Linked DNA regions of Homo sapiens: all the other regions are linked to region 1. The links are contacts of gene promoters, found by promoter capture Hi-C in blood cells and fetal thymus (Javierre and others, 2016). All regions are on one chromosome and are shown on one strand. Each heading gives the region's core, a stretch centred on a gene start or on the middle of the fragment in contact. The rest is flanking DNA. Distances are from core to core; before and after follow the strand shown.

Region 1 (3,178 bases), core at 306-2,805:
TCTGCAGAACAGCCTATGCTCAGATGACCCAGCTGTGTATGGAGGCAGGGGGATGGATGAGATGACCTTCAGTAACCCCCTTCTGGTGGGGGAAGGGAGAGCCGTTCTCCAATCTCATCTTTGAGTCAGCTTGGGCCTGTTTCCACAAGTCCTCTTCCATCTGTCAAAGCCCTTCTAGGAAAGCTGAGCTGAAAGGCAGCTGCGGAGGGCAGAGTGCTGGCTGGGTCCGGGCTCACTTCCTCCTTTTCAGGCAGGAAAAGCAGACAAAAGTGCACAATGGACCAGAGAGGGCGCGTCCAGCAGAGAAGGAGGGAGAAGGCGGGGGAGCTGGTCCTTGGGGCAACAGGCCTGGGAAGGTTCCCTTTGATCCCCTTATCTCTGGAGGGTAAGCTTTCTTTTTTGGCCTGCAGGACCTTTTGTTGCAGCATTTCCTGGAATCCCCCAAAGTAAACACAGTCAAGACTGCATTCTTACTGCTCTACTCTTCTGAGCCTGCTCCTCCCAGCTGAGAGAGGGGCAGGAAGGTCAACCCTCCGAGATCAACACTGCTCATCAAAATGCTGACAAGGGCCCACCTAACAATGTGTTAGGACCGGGGCTGTCTGAGAGACGATGCCAGTTAAGGCTGGGCTGGCTCTTAGCTGCAGCAAGAGTGGAAGATGACAACCAGTTGATATCTGGTAGCTCTGTGCATCCTGGACTTGGAGGCAAGAATAGGCAAGGAGAAAATCTGGATCCTTCCAGAGAATTTCAGAGAAAAACAGGCATGGGTTTAGGGAGTTACCTGCCCACTGGGCCTACTTTCATCCAGACAGGAGGCCCGTGGCCAGCTCTTCCAGGTGGGGATGGGGTGGGTGGGGAACAGCGAATAACCCCACTGATAACTTCAAGCCTCACAAATCTCTTGCCCTCTGAGGAGCAGGAGAAGAGAAGCCTGAAATTTGGGGTCACCAGCCAATTATCCTTCCCCAGGGTTTATTATTGTCAACTCTTAGAGGCCACAGGGAAAGGGTGGGGTGGTCTTCACCAAGCCAGCGTTTTATTTATAGGGAAATTCAACCCCCCCAATCCCCCTCCCCTCCTACAAATGGAAACTGGGCCGCACCAGGAGTCCTTCAACCTTCTAACTTTCCCTCTCCCCAGCTTTGATGAGGAGGGGCGTTCAGCCAAGAGGCCCCTCCTCGCTGCAGTTGAGGTCCATTATGTAACCCAGCTTGCGAAATGCAGGAAAGGCCCGGCTGGCTACAGCCCGGCTAACGGCTCAGAAAGGGCGCCCCTGATAGGAATACCCCCACCTCAGGCGTGGCCCAGACAAACGCGATAAAGCTGTGGGCATGGAGTTTTGGGCATTGGGACATCCGGGGGAGGGAGGGGCGCGGGCAGTCGGGGTCAGGCCGCCGTCGGGGCGCGGGGCGCTGCGGGCCACCTGTTGCAGCGGGCGGCCAGGGCTCACCTGCGCGGAGACCGGGCCGAGGGGCGGCGGCGGCGAGCGGCGGAGCTGAGGTCCCCGAGGCTAGCCCGCGCCTCCGGCTTCCGCCGGGTCAGCTGACTGCCCAGTGCGGAACTGTGCGCCCGCCGCGCTCCCCTGCCGCGCTCCCCGCTGCTGCCGCCGCGCCCCCGCGCTCCGTCCCGCGCGCCCGCAGCGTCCTGGCCGCCATGGCCGGGCTCGTGGTGCGTGGAACTCAAGTAAGTCCCGGCCAGCCCCGCCTCCGCCCGGGGCGCAGTCCGCGTGGGGAGGGACAGCGGGGCACAGAGGCTCCCCAGGGCCTAGACACCCCTGTCCCCGCCTCAGGGGGCTGCGTCTGCAGGGGGTGAGCTTCAGGTGCTCAGGCTCGCCCTAGTGGGGCTAGGACAGACCTCGTTTCGGGCCTGGCACACCCCCTTGATGTGCGGGAAGAACACCCGCAAGGTCTCCCGTTCTCCCCACTTCCTTCTGCCCTTAGCGCCTCACTGAGCAGGCCCAGCGGACACAGTGCTGACGGCCCCCGCTGCTTTTGGGGGCCCACAGAAAATGTTCCAATTTCATAATCTGAATTTTAAAAACTTTTGGTCAAAGAATCCATTTTGATAAATCACATTGATATAGTCATCTTTATACCAATGCAGTTGTAATATACAAATTTACTTATTTGTAAATGGAGGAAGGGGTTTATGAAGGCAAAAGTGTCTAGGGTACCCAAAGTCCCAGCACATCCCTGGAGATGAGGGTGCTGGTGGGCCCTGCGCTGAATGGGCTACGCCATAGCCAAAGGCTGATGGAAGGCCACCGACCTCCAGTTCTCTTTCCACACTCGATTTCTTGAACAGGAGTCTGTGATGAATGGCAACACGCCAGTTTCAATCCTGGGTGCCAGACACCCAGTCTCACATGCTTTGAGCTCTGTAGTGAAGCCTCAGGTGTTCATTGTTGGAGGGATGAACCCAGCCACTCTGGGACCAGGTGTCTTTCTTACCTGCTGGAAAAGCCAGTTCTCTGTCTTTAACCTCTTCTCTGCTCTGATGAAGCCAGAGCCCTCTTACTTCCCACCTTTCCCTGCACACCCTGGAGAAATAGTTCTGAGTTTTTGAAGCTCTCCTCTTGGATTGCCTAAGGCAGGTAGTGTCAGGCACAATTGGATTTTGAGATTACTTTGGGCTGAAGGGAATGATTCCTCCTTAGAGGAGATTCTAGGGGTTTTTACAGCTCCTACAGATGCAGTGAGGGCCAACTGTGCAGCCCATTAAACTAGCCGCTGCCTGTTTTCTTTTTTTCCAGAGTCCTGTCGTTTCATCAGGTACACATGTTTATTGAGTGCCTACTGTATGCCAGGCACCATGCCAGGTGTTGTTGGAAATTAGCCTTTCCTTTGTCTCTGTGCACCCCCCATTTAACAGTTTTGTTGCTCAGGAATGCTGGCTCTGTCCCTTGACCCACAGCCTGGGAGGAGAGAGCTGGAGAAAGACCAGAGTTCAGAAGTGAGTTAACAGCCTGCGGAGAGGCTAAAAATGACGGGTCTTGTTCAGCCATCGGGGAAAGGGGCTTTTTTTTTCTGGGAGTTAATTTACTGCCTGGAGGGAGGGGCTGGACAAGAGGGTCTTTTCCTTCTCTTGGAGTATCTACCTAAGAAGGAGGGTTCCCTGCCCCCCAGACCCTAGGTCTCTCTGCGTTTCAGATTTGGTGTTCTCCCGGTGTACCTTG
Region 2 (3,178 bases), core at 357-2,856, 1.7 Mb after region 1:
TATATACACACACCTACGGTAAAATTTAACTTATAAATTAGCACAGGAAGGGATTAACAATGGCAATAATAAAATAGAACAATTATGACAATATGTACCAGCATCACTATACTTGCGCTTTGGGGCCGTTATTAAGTAAAATAAGGGTTAGTTGAACACAGGTAACATGGGTTACAGCAAGACATCGGTCTGCCCACTGAAGTGCCCTGAGAGACTAATGGCCAGGGAGTGCAGATGGCACGGATGTGCTGGACAAAGGGAGGATTCTTGTCCCAGATGGAACCAAGCAGGACAGCATGCAACTTAAACATTATGAATTGTTTATTTCTAGAATTTCCTATTTAATATTTTCAGACTACGGTTGCCTGGGGATAACTGAAACCTCAGGAAGCAAAACCATAGATAAGAGGCACTCCTGTAGAAATACATGCTAGCAATGTATTAGCCATTTAGTGTTTAATCCTGAACATTCTGTGTGTGCATAGATATGCTTTTATTTATGGAACTAAAAATAGAATACAAACAACCTGAACTTCAAACTGGATTTCTTCTTTTTATCTTTAAACGATGGTGTTTGTATCGTATATCCATTGCTGATTGGCAGCTTGCCACATTTGAGTGAGTTACACAAATATAGTAGAATAAAAGCTTTTCTTTTAATTAAGGTGCATGAAAGTAAGGGCAGGAAAGAAATGAATGCAGAGGCCACAAGGTCCTATACTCTTGCTAGACACAAACTGCAGATCTAGCTCTGAGCACCTTCTTAACAAAAGCAAGCAGGCAGACAGGATAAGATCAATAGTGTATACATATGAGAGAAAAACAAACTGGCTTGCAGGAGAATCATTTATTTTTCCCAACATGGAGACCAGAGGGAAATATCTCCTTGCAAAAGGGACCCAGGGTGATGCAGGAGCAAGACCCCTGTGGGCTGAACAAGGGTGGCCTTTGCTTATTTGACTGCCTCATACTGGGCATTTTTATGGCACTGAGTTTCACTAATGCAAATGAGCCAATGAAGTTCTCCATAGGTTAAAAAAGTCAGTCTACATTTCATCCTCAGATCAAGCCAGACTATCTGGAGAAATGGTTGGTCTTTCAGGAATCATTCACAATAGCTTCCGTATTAGTCCGTTCTCACTCTGCTAATAAAGACATACCCGAGACTGGGTAATTTATAAAGGAAAGAGGTTTAATTGACTCAATTCCACAGGGCTGGAGAAGCCTCAGGAAACTTACAGTCATGGCAGAAGGGGAAGCAAACACATCCTACTTCACATGGTGGCAGGAAGGAGAAGTGTTGAGCATAAGAGGGAAAAGCCCCTTATAAAACCATCAGATTTCGTGAGAACTCACTATCACGAGAACAGCAGCATGGGGGTAACTGCCCCCATGATTCAATTACCTTCCACAGGGCCCCTCCTACAACATAGGGGTATTATGGGAACTACAATTCAAGATGAGATTTGGGTAGGGACACAGCCAAACCATATCAGCTTCCTAACCGCTTTCTGCCCTGGACCCCTTGTGTTCTCTGCTCAGAAGCCTCCAATGCCACCCATTCCACACAGAGTAAAAGTCAAAGTCTTTCAAAGGCCTAAAGCAACACCATCCCACCACCAGCACTATCTCCTTTTGGATCTGATGGCTTCCTACTGTCACTCCTACTACTGTCCGCTGATCTGGCAGATGTCTTCAGTGACACTTGAACACACAGGTATGCTACTGCCCCAGGGCCTCTGCACATGCAGCCTCTCTGCCTGGAATGCTGTTTGCCAGATGCCCACATGGCATACTCCCTCACCTCCTTTGGGTTCTTACTCAATGTCCCTTGATCAGCGTGACTTTCCCTGGCTACCCGACCTAAACATGCAACTCCTCCCACACCACCCGTGCAACTCCCTATCCTCTTTCCTGCTTCACTTTTCTCCTCAGCATGAAGCACTAGCACCTCGGTTATGTGGTTACTTTCTGCCTTCCTCTCTTTAGCATCAGCTCTATGAGGGGAGGAGCTGATGTCTGTTTTGTTCAGGGCTATATTTCCAGCATTGAACATAGTGTCTGGCATAAGGTGAAGGCTCAATAAATCCTTGTTTGAACTGAATGAGTGAATCAAAGTTTTGAGAAATAATTAGACGGCGGAGTTAAAGGTTAGATAATCCACATTCAGAATTCTGAGACTATATGTTGCCTACTAAAGGGAAAAGCCAGAAGCCCTGCGGGGTCCCCTGAGAGAGGTCAGGGCTGCACTCTTGGGAAGTAGAAAGTAGCCTCATCAGGGAAAAGCCTTAACGAATGACCACTCTGGCTATACCCAGAAAGAGCCCAGAAGACTACAGACAGCGACTTCAGGCTAAGAGAGGAGACCAAGATAAGAGAGGTGAGAGGGGGAACTCTTTGGTGACAATTATTCATCTTCTCTATTTTATAATATCTTTTATTATTTTTATTCTATAAAATCTCTGAAATAAATGATTTTCTAAGGTAACACAAAATAGCTATAATAGAGTTGTGAAGAAGAAAATGTGTATATACCAAAAGCCAGGAATTACATGCCCTCCCCAAAAGCTTCCAGGTTCAGAGAGTTTTACAAGTGAGATTTTTACAGTTTCAAAAAATAGTAACTTCTCTATCTATTCTCTATTATATGATCAATTCTTAAAAATGGACTTATCTGTGTTTTTCCATGCTCTGTATTGGTTTAGAAAGTTGGCATTACCTGGACACAAGTTCCCTTGCATTTTTTCTTAAATGGCAAGCTTATCACACTAATGACTAACAACAATAATCCTAAATAAAATACTAGGGTATCATATCCAAGACTGCATTAAATGAATAAAAGACATGAGCTATAGCAGATGCTGTAGGGTACAGCCCAAATCCCCTCTTCAGGGACCTTATTTGTCCTGGGCTCTTGAAGAGTGACCTGCTAAAGGCTCAGAGCTAGTCCCTTCATGAGAACTGCCCTCTGCTACAAGGAGCTGCCTCACCTGGGGCTACATCCCCTGTCAGTGGTGGTGCCCCCCACCCCCCCACCCCCCCCCCACCACCACACACAAATGCTGGCTGATGTAGGGACAAAGGTCAGCTGCCTTGCCTCAATTTGGGATACTTTTTCCTGTGGGATGGGTTGAGGCTTCCCAGGCAGCTGCAGCCAGCCTGAGTTCTCCACCCTTAT
Region 3 (3,178 bases), core at 218-2,717, 1.5 Mb after region 1:
AAGAACTATTTACAGATCAGGGTGAGAGCACATTTTGAGGGATGTTTTTGTCCTTGAAGAGTCTTTAACAGTTGCATAGATATCTATTAATATTATCTGGAATAGGTAGGTAGACAAAAGCCATCATGGAGAAGAGGTTTGAGAAAATGAACAAAATTAACTCTTTCCAGCCCATGAAGAACATATTTCAGTTGCAAGAGGATATTAGCAGACTTGCCCTGAAGATATAGAGCCAGGTTCAAATTCTCTTGCCCTGTTTACTGGTTGGAGAGAAAGTATTACCTCAGGATGACCTGAGACCTGCCCCTAGTGCATTTAGGATTTAAAAGATACTCAGAACTATGTTCCCATAATATCAGCAAGCAAGCAAATGAAACAGCAAGCTGACAAAAAACACTTTTAGAAAATGTGTGCCTTGGGGAAGAGGAGATACATTTTGGTTTGGTATACTTGATTCTTTCTGGGAAGGAGTCAGACGTTGTTAACAGTGGCCTACAACTTTCATCCAGAAAAGCAAATAAGCAAGCCTGATGATCGATCGCCCTTCAATAAAAAGAAAAAAGACAGCTAATGTCAAGCTTCATTAACTGGGGTAGTGGTTTCCAGAAACCAGGCATAATTTCACACTGGAGCTCAAGCCATGGTTTGCAATGGAACATCCAGAGGCATCCAGGAAGTCTTAGAGGTATGCCACACTACACTCTACTCCCCACACATCTCTCATCCTGGCCTGGACCATTTAAATATAAACAATCCAGGATTTCCCCCAAGAGACTGACCTGAGGAACATCAAAAACCTCCCGGAACAAAGACATTACCCTCTCTGACCAGCATGGTACCTGGAATTCTAACTTTGGTTTATTGAATCAGTAAAGCAACCAATTGAATCAGTAAAGCAATCAATAAGAATCCCCTATTCTGAGCATGGAATGGAGGCTACAGTAATGATTAAGATAAAGTCCCTAGTCAAAGAGAGGTCCACAAGATAGCAGGAAAAAAATATATATACACCAATAGTTCAATAGTTACAGTACCTTGTGGCAAGTGTTACAGCAAAGTACAAGGTGATACAAGAATACCAAGAAAAAAGCTGTTCATATCCTGGTATTTGGGTAGCATTAAGGAAGGTTTTGCAAAGAAAGTAGCATTTGGGCCGGGCGTGGTGGCTCAGGCCTGTAATCCCAGCACTTTGGGAGGCCAAGGTGGGCGGATCATGAGGTCAGGAGATCGTGTCCATCCTGGCTAACACGGTGAAACCCCATCTCTATTAAAAATACAAAAAAATTAGCCAGGCATGGTGGTGGGTGCCTGTAGTCCCAGCTACTCTACTCGGGAGGCTGAGGCAGGAGAATGGGGTGAACCCAGGAGGTGGAGCTTGCAGTGAGCCGAGATCACGCCACTACATTCCAGCCTGGGCAACAGAGCGAGACTCTGTCTCAAAAAAAAAAAAAAAAAAAAAAAAATTAGCATTTGATCTGAACCATGAGAAATGAAGAGGAATCTCAGCATGTTGCAGTGTTGATCCACTAATAGCCAGTAGGACCCACCCAGAGAATTGAGGCCCAAATGAAAAGGGCCAAATAATGGCACCTAAAACCATGGCTGAAGATGCCCCATACCATACCACCTAACCTAAGGTACAGAAGACTCAGACCAGGCCTTCCAGCTGTCTCCAGATGTGCAATGACAGTCAAGTTGAAGATGGATTAAACTGATTGAGTATGACTGATTGACAGCAGACTAAGAATGATCCATGAGATTAAGAGAGAACAAAAATCATGGTTCCAAAACAGGAAGATTGTTATAAAAATTGAAAGTAATTCAAAAATGAAATGAGTTGTTGCCCAAGACAGTGGGTTTTCTATCATTGAGCCATTCCACAAGAGCAAGGGATACAGTGAGCATATGCATATAAAGGTTGGGCGAGCCTAGAAGATCCTGAAGGTTTGAAGCACTGTGCTGTCACTGGAGAAAGACACAGCTAGAAGAATTTTGAAAGTACTGGACCATTGTTGGATATCAGAAGGCTGGAGAGCCCTGAGTAGGTAAAGAAAGGTTGCTAGAGTGAAGATGAGAGGTAAGCAGCGTGGGAGAGGGATTAATTTATGGCTCCAGTAAGGGCCAGCACTGTTACACACTCACTGGATTTCACAGTCTGGGAGTAAGCTGGGAACACAATTCGTTCCAGCAACAATAGAGTCTGTAACTGTTTCTGGCCAGACAGTATAAATTTCTTTACTATGGCTGTTGCTGTAGTAATTTCAAGTGCCTTAGGCTGGCCTGTGCTGCAGAGAGATCTCTGGAACAGGTGGAGAGTGTACAGTCAGTTGTCCACAGGGACTAAATCAAAGTTTCTAAAGCTTCTATTGCTAGAAGAAAGTCCAAGCATTTGCCATTGAGCACACCAATCAACACTGCTGTGATCCAGGGAGACCCAGAGGAATTGGGCCGTTTGTTGTATGGAAAGGAGGATCATGAGAAATCTCCCTGAACAAGGGATCCCAACATCTTCAGTTTGCAAGGTGATAGAGACCCACTTCCAAAGCCTCTCCCACAACTCCTCAAAGACCAGTTAGTTGAAATCAAGGACCAGGATTAGATATTGTCTTTCACATCATAATGACATTACCTAAGTCTTCCACTCACAAAGTAATTTTCAATTTCCCTAAAAGGCACCATAATTAATTCAAGGCTCACTTGTCACTTGCGACTTAGCCAATGTACATGCCCTATTTTAGGGTAATAGAAACTCTATGATGTGAGATATATCTGCTGTTTCATTTTTATGGGCTGAACTGTGTTCTCCCCCAAATTTTTATGTGAAGTCTTAACCGCCGGTACCTCAGAATGTGACTGTATTTTGAAATATGGTCTTTAAAGAAGTAATTAAGTTAAAATTAGGTCATTGGGGTGAGTTCTGATCCAATAGGACTGGTGTCCTTACAAGAAGAGGAAATTTGGGCCAACTTTTCCACAGGAGGGAAAATCATGTGAAGACAGAGGGAAAAGACAGAGATCTGCAAGCCAAGAAGAGAGGCCTGAAACAGATCCTTCCCTCAGTACCCTTGGGAGGAACCAACCCTCCCAGACTTTCATCTCAGACTTCTAGCCACCAGAACTGTGAGAAGCTCTGTTGTTTAAGACACTGGGTCTGTGATACTTGATTACAGCATTCCTA

What was found. The method cuts DNA at HindIII sites, captures the fragments that hold promoters and counts their contacts. A CHiCAGO score of 5 or more calls a contact.
Region 2: a fragment that was not itself captured here is called in contact with the fragment with the promoter of LRMDA in region 1 in 1 of 17 cell types (naive CD8 T cells); the score reaches 5.6 in naive CD8 T cells.
Region 3: a contact is called between a fragment that was not itself captured here and the fragment with the promoter of LRMDA in region 1, in 1 of 17 cell types (total B cells). The highest score is 5.5, in total B cells.

What each region holds. Positions count from the first base shown.
Region 1 is chr10:75,430,069-75,433,246 of GRCh38, forward strand. LRMDA (leucine rich melanocyte differentiation associated) reads left to right here and starts at 1,556. Exons shown (of 7, transcript NM_001305581.2): 1 at 1,556-1,686. The coding sequence starts at 1,657. It overlaps LOC107984293 (a long non-coding RNA gene), which reads right to left and starts at 1,542. Exons shown (of 2, transcript XR_001747703.2): 1 at 1,454-1,542; 2 at 1-242. RefSeq lists enhancers at 1,364-1,864, 1,865-2,365 and a silencer at 1,506-1,605. The HindIII fragment of the contact is 4,872 bases long and covers 389-3,178 here.
Region 2 is chr10:77,123,691-77,126,868 of GRCh38, forward strand. The region is part of intron 5 of KCNMA1 (potassium calcium-activated channel subfamily M alpha 1); the gene reads right to left. Among named protein-coding and RNA genes, the nearest start is that of KCNMA1-AS2, 16 kb to the right of the region's middle. The HindIII fragment of the contact is 1,920 bases long and covers 647-2,566 here.
Region 3 is chr10:76,955,690-76,958,867 of GRCh38, forward strand. The region is part of intron 20 of KCNMA1 (potassium calcium-activated channel subfamily M alpha 1); the gene reads right to left. The region is part of intron 2 of KCNMA1-AS1 (KCNMA1 antisense RNA 1); the gene reads left to right. Among named protein-coding and RNA genes, the nearest start is that of KCNMA1-AS1, 69 kb to the left of the region's middle. The HindIII fragment of the contact is 1,782 bases long and covers 577-2,358 here.